2 separate regions of the Homo sapiens genome follow, and region 1 is linked to region 2. Evidence: promoter capture Hi-C in 16 types of primary human blood cells and fetal thymus (Javierre and others, 2016). All regions are on one chromosome and are shown on one strand. The core of a region is centred on a gene start or on the middle of the fragment in contact, and the rest is flanking DNA. Distances in the headings are between cores, read along the strand shown.

Region 1 (4,170 bases), core at 1,586-4,085, 82 kb before region 2:
GGTCTCAAACTCCTAACCTCAGGTGATTTGCCTGCCTCGGCTTCCCAAAATGCTGGGATTACAGGCATAAGCCACCGCGCCTGGCCTTTTTCTTCTTAAACACCTTGGGCTATGTGTTCAGTCCTAACTGGTGGACGGTGAATACTGTACTTGGTCCCTTCATTTCCCTCCAAATGAGATTAGCTCTTAGGGCAGGAATCATGTCTAACCAAAACAAAGAGAACACAGCTCTCAACACATGCCATCATGTACTTGCTGGTAGTGGCAATGACAACAAAAAGGTTAACCTTCCCTAAAGGGGGGCTCCAAAAGTCTCTAAGAAAAGCAAATGCATAGCATGTAGACCATTTTCAAAGCATTATCATTTCTGCAGATGACTAAAACCTCCCTGAATTTTCTGAACATATAAGCAATGTTTCAGCACTAAGAAACAATTTTTTCTGTTGAAATATAACCGGACCCAGTGGTTCACGCCTGTAATCCCAGAACTTTGGGAGGGCAAGGTAGGCAAATCACTTGAGGTCGGGAGTTTGAGACCAGCCTGGCTCACATAAGCAAAACCCTGTCTCTACTAAAACTACAAAAATTAGCCAGGCGTGGTGGCACATGACTGTAATCCCAGCTGCTTGCAGTTGGAGGTTGCAGTGAGCAGAGATTGCGCCACTGTTTTCCAACCTGGGCAACAGAGCGAGGCTTCAAAACAAAACAAAACAAAACAACCCCAACTCTTTATATTTTTTTAAAAAAACTTCAGAGAAATACTAGCTAGGATAAACTGGGGTTTTTTTTTTTTTTCTTCTTCTTTTTTTTTTTTTTTTTTTTTTTTTGTGAGACAGAGTCTCGCTCTATTGCCCAGGCTGGAGTGCAATGGTGCGATCTTGGCTCACTGCAACCTCCGCTCAGTGCAACCTCCGCCTCCCAGGTTCAAGCCATTCTCCTGCCTCAGCTTCCCGAGCAGCTGGGATTACAGGCACCTGCCACCACACCCATGTAATTTTTTTGTATTTTTAGTATAGACAGGGTTTCACCATGCTGGCCAGGCTGGTCTCAAACTCCCAACCTCAGGCGATCCACTCACCTCAGCCTCCCAAAGTGTTGGGATTACAGGCGTGAGTCACAGCGCCCGGCCTAAACTGGGATTTCTTATAAGATATTAGAAATATGAAAACCACTGGAACTAAACCAAAATTCAGTACTGGGAGACAGAAATCAGTGCCTTTTGTCTGTTTCCATACAGAATAATACTTGAAATGATGAGGAATAAATGACTATACTAGCTATTTCTATGTGAATATTTTTGTATCATCCATACAAATCTAGTGGTTTCACCATTAATAGCCTAAGATGACCTTTTTCCTCTTTGACTCACAAATGGGTGGTTTTAACTGTCTTGTGCTGGCCCAATTCTTTTCCATTAATAATCCCCTGTAACATATACACTGCAGACCTAGTAAATCTAAATCACAAATTGGGGCGAGACCTTCTTTTGGACTAGACAACCTTCTTTTGGCTCACGACAACAGAGAGATCAAATTAAAGGAAGTCTATTTACAATGTAGTAAACTTGAATATACACCTGTAATGCTCATTTAAAAATGTTCATGTTAATCTCTTGATCTCCGCCAGGCGCAGTGGCTCACACCTGTAAACCCAGCACTTTGGGAGGCCAAGACAGGTGGATCACCTGAGGTCGTGAGTTCGAGACCAGCCTGGCCAACACAGTGAAAGCCCATCCCTACTAGAAATACAAAAATTAGCTGGGTGTGATGGTGTGTGTCTGTAGTCCCAGCTACTTGGGAAGTTGAGGCAGGAGAATCACTTGAACCCGAGGTGGAGGTTGCAGTAAGCCAAGATTGTGCCACTGCACTCTAGCCTGGGTGACAGAGTGAGTGAGACTCCGTCTCAAAAAATAAATAAATAAATAAATAAATAAAGCAAAAAAAGAAAAAAAATCTCTTGATCTCTCAAGTCCGCTGAAAGAAACATTTATCATACTCTTTAGGAAAGACTCAATAAGGATTTTAATGATGCCCTCTACATCTGGTAGAAAGAGATATGGAGAAAGACACTGGTAGTTAAGATTCCCTCAGGAATTTCTTTCTTGGAGGCAAGGACACAAGATGTTTCTAAATCTTTAAAACGGGAAACCAGGAATTCACTTTAGTTGCAGCAAAAGCCTCAAGATATAACCAGAGATGCATGTCCAGAGATACATATATATAGAGAGAGAAAGAGACTAACAGGACTAAAAGAAATAGTACTACCTGAATTTTTACATATAATTTCTATATGCCAAAAGTTGTAAATGCCACTGTGTTTGTTGGCTAGGGACAGCAGAAGAAGGAACAGCTGGGAGCTTGCACAGTCTGCAGAAAGCAAACCACAAAGACTCACTGCTAAATACTGGGGTCCAAGAGTATTTAGACCAGCAAGGTTTCCCCACACAGATGCTGCGCTGATTTGCTGCATCTGCTGCTGGAGCTGCTGGGCCATTCTCTTCTGTTCTTTGTCCTTCTGTGTATCAGCAAATTTTACCACCATGGGTGATGAGCAACCCTGTGAAAAGACCATAACGAAAGGGTCAAATTCCTCCATCTGAAAAGAAGAAAAAAAATCTTCCTTTTGGATGACATGCAGGTTACATTCTAATTTCATTCACTGCCAAATGATTCTCCTCATGATAGACACAAGAGAGAAGAGACTGTAATCCCAACACTTTGGGAGGCTGAGGCGGGTGGATCACTTGAGCCCAGGAATTTTAGACCAGCCTGGGCAACATGGCAAAACGGTCGCTATTAAAAAAAAATACAAAAATTAACTGGGCGTGCTGGTGTGCACCTGTAGTCCCAGCTACTTGAGTGGCAGAGGTAGGGGGGATCACTTGAGCCTGGGTGGTTGGGGCTGCAGTGAGCCATGATATTCCCACTGCACTCCAGCCCAGGTGACAAAGTAAGACCCCATCTCAAAAAAAGGGGTAGGGAGAGCATTTCCAATACGTTAATTTTAAAGAAATCAGTGGTTTTTAACTTTAAGATGTTGGCTGTTTAACCTTCTGGGCAATCAGATGCTGCACATGCTGCTGGACTTTAATGGCCAACTGTCCCAGCATTCCCAAGCTGAGGAATTTTCCCCATCACCTATCTGCTCCCTACCTCCATGGTCTGTGCTTGGTGCATTGCCTTGATAGCCGTCTGTGCCATGGCTCTTGTTGTAAAAGTCACAAATGCACAACCTGGTAAGAGAAGAGTCAGTAACTCATGCATTCATTTATTTCTCTGACAAACATTAACTGAGCACCTACTATGTGCTGACTATCATGCTAGCAATACAGACACAGTCCCTGTTTTCAGGGAATCATGTGCTGGTATGTTGCAACAGGGTGATATGTGCTATAATGAAAAAACAGAACCACTGACAGAAAAAAAAAATGCTTGACAGGAGAAAGGAGGACTCATATCCTCTAGTTCCTCTTGAAAATAAAAGAAAATGGAAGAAGAAAGTATTTCCATTTTGGCATCAAGGATCTTGCAAAGCACCAAAAGAGAAAATTTTAATACATGACAATGAAATATAGAATGTAGACTCCTTAGAGGGGCTGGGAGACAAAAAGAATGAACTGATAGGAGGAGTCAAGACAGGACATAGATATACAGCAGGAAGCAGCAGGCCCAACCTCTTTATCTTGACTGGGCCATATTGGCTAGGGAATCACTGTTGCTAGTTTCCACCGGTCAAATTAAAAAGATTCCAAGCCCGGTGCAGTGGCTCACACCTACAATCCTGGCACTTTGGGAGGCCAAGATGACAGGATCGTTTGAGTCCAGGAGTTCAAGACCAGCCTGGGCAACACAGGGAGACCTTTTCTCTATAAAAAATTTAAAAATTAGCTGGGTGTCATGATGCATGCCTGTGGTCCCAGCTACTCAGGAGGCTGATCCTGGGAGGTTCAGGCTGCAGTGAGTTGTGAAGGCACCACTGCACTCCAGCCTGGGTGAGAGAGAGCAAGACCTTGTCTCCAAAAAAAAAAAAACCCCAAACCAAACCAAAACAAAAAACCAAAAGATTATTTAAAAGCTAAAACTACCTACCTCGGCTCAGGCCATCAGGTCCCCGCAATATCCGGCATTCTTCAATCTGTCCAAACGAAGAGAACATGACTCGGATGTCATT
Region 2 (4,183 bases), core at 1,595-4,094:
AGTGCAGTGGCGCGATCTTGGCTTATCACAAACTCCGCCTCCTGGGTTCAAGTGATTCTCCTGCCTCAGCCTCCCAAGTAGCTGGGATTACAGGCGCCCACTATTATACCTGGCTAATTTTTGTATTTTTTTAGTAGAGACGGGGTTTCACCATGTTGGCCAGGCTGGTCTCAAACTCCTGACCTCAGGTGATCTGCCTGCCTCTGCCTCCGCCTCCCAAAGTGCTGGGATTACAGGTGTGAGCCACTGTGCCCAGTCCCGAGATCAGTTTGGGCAACATAGTGAGACCCCATCGCTACAAATAATAAAAAATTAGCCAGGTATCGTGGCACACGTCTGTAGTCTCAACTCCTTGGGAGGCTGAGGTAGGAGGACTGCTTGCACCCAAAAGGTCGGGGCTACAGTGAGTCATGATCACGCTGCCACTGCACTCTAGCCTGGGTGACAGTGAGACCCTGTTTCCTAGAAAAAAAAAAAAGAAAAGTAAAAAGAAGAAATGCCCTCAACATGCTAAACATGTAAATCTATACAGTCAGAAAGCAGGTTAGTAGTGTTTGCCTAAGGCTGGAGGATGATTGGGAGAAAATGGTGAGTCTCTGCTAATTCATAAGGGGCTTATTTTGAGGGCAATGAAAATATTCTAAAATTAGGCTGGGTGCGGTGGCTCATGCCTGTAATCCCAGCACTTTGGGAGACCAAGGCGGGTGGAACACCTGAGGTCAGGAGTTCAAGAGCAGCCCGGCCAACATGGTGAAACCCCATCTCTATTAAAAACACACACAAAATTAGCCAGGCATGGTGGCGGGCACCTGTAGTTCTAGCTACTGGGGAGGATGAGGCAGGAGAACTGCTTGAACCCGGGAGGTGGAGGTTGCAGTGAGTGGAGATGGCGCCACTACACTTCAGCCTAGTCAATAGAAGGAGACTCCGTCTCAAAAACAAAATATAAAAAAAAGAAAATGAATCTTTTAAAACCACCAGATGGGCCGGGCATGGTGGCTTATGCCTGTAATCCCGGCACTTTGGAAGGCCGAGGGGGACGGATCTCCTCAGGTCAGGACTTTGAGACCAGTCTGGCCAACATGGTGAAACCCTGTCTCTACTAAAAATACAAAACTTAGCTGGGCGTGGTGGCAGCTACTCGGGAGGCTGAGGCAGGAGAATTGCTTGAACCTGGGAGGCAGAGGTTGCAGTGAGCTGAGATCACGCCATTGCACTCCAGCTTGGGTGACAAGAGTGAAACTCTATCTTAAAAACAAACAAACAAACAAAATCTCCACCAGATGCTTGGGCCGGGCGTGTGGCTCATGCCTGTAATCCCAACACTTTGGGAGGCTGAGGCTGGCAGATCACCATAGGTCAGGAGTTCAAGACTAGCCTGGCCAACATGGTGAAACCCCATCTCTACTAAAAATACAAAAAAAAAAAAAAAAAAAAAAAGAAAGCCGGGCGCGGTGGCTCATGCCTGTAATCCTGGCACTTTGGGAGGCCAGGGGGATGGATCACCTGAGGTCAGGAGTTTGAGACCAGCCTGGTCAACATGTTGAAGCCATCTCACTAAAAATACAAAACTTAGCTGGGCGTGGTGACATGTACCTGTAATCCCAGCTACTCGGGAGGCTGAGGCAGGAGAATTGCTTGAACCTGGGAGGCAGAGGTTGCAGTGTGCTGAGATCACGCCATTGCACTGCAGCTTGGGTGACAATAGTGAAACTCTGTCTCAAAAACAAAAAACAAAAAACAAAAACTCCACCAGATGCTTGGGCCGGGTGCAGTGGCTCATGCCTGTAATGCCAGCACTTTGGGAGGCTGAGGTGGGCGGATCACCTTAGGTTCGAGACCAGCCTGGCTGACAAGGTGAAACCTCGTCTCTACTAAAAACAAAAGTTAGCTGGGTGTGGTGGCATGCACCTGTAATCCCAGCTACTCAGGAGGCTGAGGCAGGAGAATCGTTTGAACCCGGGAGGCGGAGGTTGCAGTGAGCTGAGATCTTGCGACTGCCCTCTAGCCTGGGCAACAGAGTGAGACTCCGTCTCAAAACAAACAAACAAAAAGTAAATAGCTGGCATTACAACCATTCTTCTTACCTTTTTGTAGGTTGCAGGTTTTATATTTGAGCTCTTCATAATATTTTTCTTAAGGATATATTAATATAATGTATATTTTCCTATTTTTTCCTGCTATGTAAACACTGCTGTTTGGTCAGATGAAGGAGGGAGCCCTGCCCTAGGACAGGGGAGGGGAGGAGGAAGGCGACCTCAACCCAGGACCCCTGTTCACCCTGGGATCAGGCCCTCACCCAGGTAGCTCCTCTGTTTGAAAGCTCTAAGCCCTTCCACTGTCCTCTTCAGGGCTACCCCGCCACACAGCCTCTCCTTGTCTTGTCTTCCCTTTGGCGGGGTCACACCCGCACCTGGGTCACTGCCCCCTTCCTCTGGTCGAGGGTTGGGGGGAGTGTCCCCTCCTCCCTCGGCCGGAGTCACAGTTCCACACGCAGGGGTCCTTCCTGCCCCTCTCACCTGGGGTCACAACCCCCCTCCCTCGGAGGAGGGAGGTCACCGGCCACAGGCGGGGGCCTCAGTTTCCCACGCTACAGGGCTCACACGTGTCTGGCCTGCGACGCGCTCTCCCTTCGCCGGGGTCCCAGTTTCCCGCCCAGGAAACCTCGGTCCCTCCTCCGAGGCCGCCGGGCCCTCCTCCAGAGTCCCGCCAGTCCCCCAGAGTCCAGGCCAGTCCCCGCCGTCACCCGGTGCGAGCCCGCGAGAGGCCTAGTGCAGCTGGCAGCCCCGCCCCGGCACCCGCCTGCTCTTCTCGCGGGTCCGGACCGCGAGCGCGGGGGCCGACGGGTCGCCGCTGCGCCGGGCCGGGATGGCGGCCACCGCGCTGCTGGAGGCCGGCCTGGCGCGGGTGCTCTTCTACCCGACGCTGCTCTACACCCTGTTCCGCGGGAAGGTGCCGGGTCGGGCGCACCGGGACTGGTACCACCGCATCGACCCCACCGTGCTGCTGGGCGCGCTGCCGTTGCGGAGCTTGACGCGCCAGGTGAGCCGGGCCGGGGAGCCCGGGCCCCTGCCCCGTCCCCGCCGCTCCGTCCCTGTCGGGCCGCTGGGGTCTCCACCGTCTTTGCTGAGCCACCTCTTTGCCTCGGCAGCTGGTACAGGACGAGAACGTGCGCGGGGTGATCACCATGAACGAGGAGTACGAGACGAGGTTCCTGTGCAACTCTTCACAGGTGAGGGACCGGGCCGAGGGGCAGGCTCGGGGGCCCGCTCCCCCTCGCCCACCGCCCTGAGCCTGGGACGGCTAGAGAAGTGTGGGGGAGGTCACCATGCACCGGAGCCAGGTGTCTCAAGCTGCTTTGCCTCCGGTCTGTGCCTCTAAATGGCACCTGGAGGTAGGCTAGAAGCTGTGAAAGGCGTTTATTTAAAAGTTCAAGTTGGGCCGGGCGCGGGGACTCACGCCTGTAATCCCAGCACTTTGGGAGGCGGGAGGAGGAGGCGGGCAGATCACTTGAGCCCAGGAGTTCCTGACCAGCCTGGGCAACATGGCGAGGCCCCCGTCCCTACAAAAATACAAAAAGTAGCCGGGAGTGGTGGCGTGCGCCTGTACTCCCAGCTACTTGGGAGGCTAAGGCAGGAGAATCACTTTAGCCCGGGAGGTGGAGGTTGCAGTGAGCCGACATCTCGCCATTGCATTCCAGCCCAGCCTTGGGCGACAGGAGTGAAACAATGTCTCAAAAAAAAAAAAAAAAAAAGTGGAAGTTGACAAAGCCTGATTTCTCCTTTGTGAACAAATGTAATGTATTCTTATTTCGGTAACCAAAATCAGAAACTAAAATTGAAAGGCAACTTTCCCATGCCTTCCTGATTTCATTCATTCTTTCTATACTTTGAGCTCTGAGTATGGGTCAGCATTCCCAGTGTTAGGGATTCCAGATGAAGGCCCTGCCAACTGTAAGACGAAAAGCACCCCCTTAACACTCTCCCCTCCCCAGATTTTTCATAAAACTATCCATTGAAAACTGTAGAGTTCATTTGGCTCTGATTTGGGGGAATTTTTAGTCATATATTAGAAATCATGGTGGAACTCCAAAGTTCTCTCATAACAAAGTTTAGGCCTAAAACATAACTTTCATTAAATGTGACTGGCCTGTTTGTGGAATCTTCCACAATGGTTATTAGAA

The links. The method cuts DNA at HindIII sites, captures the fragments that hold promoters and counts their contacts. A CHiCAGO score of 5 or more calls a contact.
Region 1: a fragment that was not itself captured here is called in contact with the fragment with the promoter of PTPMT1 in region 2 in 4 of 17 cell types (M2 macrophages, M1 macrophages, M0 macrophages and 1 more); the score reaches 8.1 in M2 macrophages.

Annotation. Positions count from the first base shown.
Region 1 is chr11:47,480,301-47,484,470 of GRCh38, forward strand. It overlaps CELF1 (CUGBP Elav-like family member 1), which reads right to left. Exons shown (of 15, transcript NM_001376376.1): 7 at 4,089-4,170; 8 at 3,153-3,232; 9 at 2,395-2,556. Among named protein-coding and RNA genes, the nearest start is that of RAPSN, 33 kb to the left of the region's middle. The HindIII fragment of the contact is 9,324 bases long and covers 1-4,170 here.
Region 2 is chr11:47,562,755-47,566,937 of GRCh38, forward strand. PTPMT1 (protein tyrosine phosphatase mitochondrial 1) reads left to right here and starts at 2,845. Exons shown (of 4, transcript NM_175732.3): 1 at 2,845-3,042; 2 at 3,152-3,232. The coding sequence starts at 2,869. It also overlaps a transcript of CELF1 not described here. RefSeq lists enhancers at 2,356-2,856, 2,857-3,357 and silencers at 2,667-3,146, 3,277-3,356. The HindIII fragment of the contact is 17,352 bases long and covers 1-4,183 here.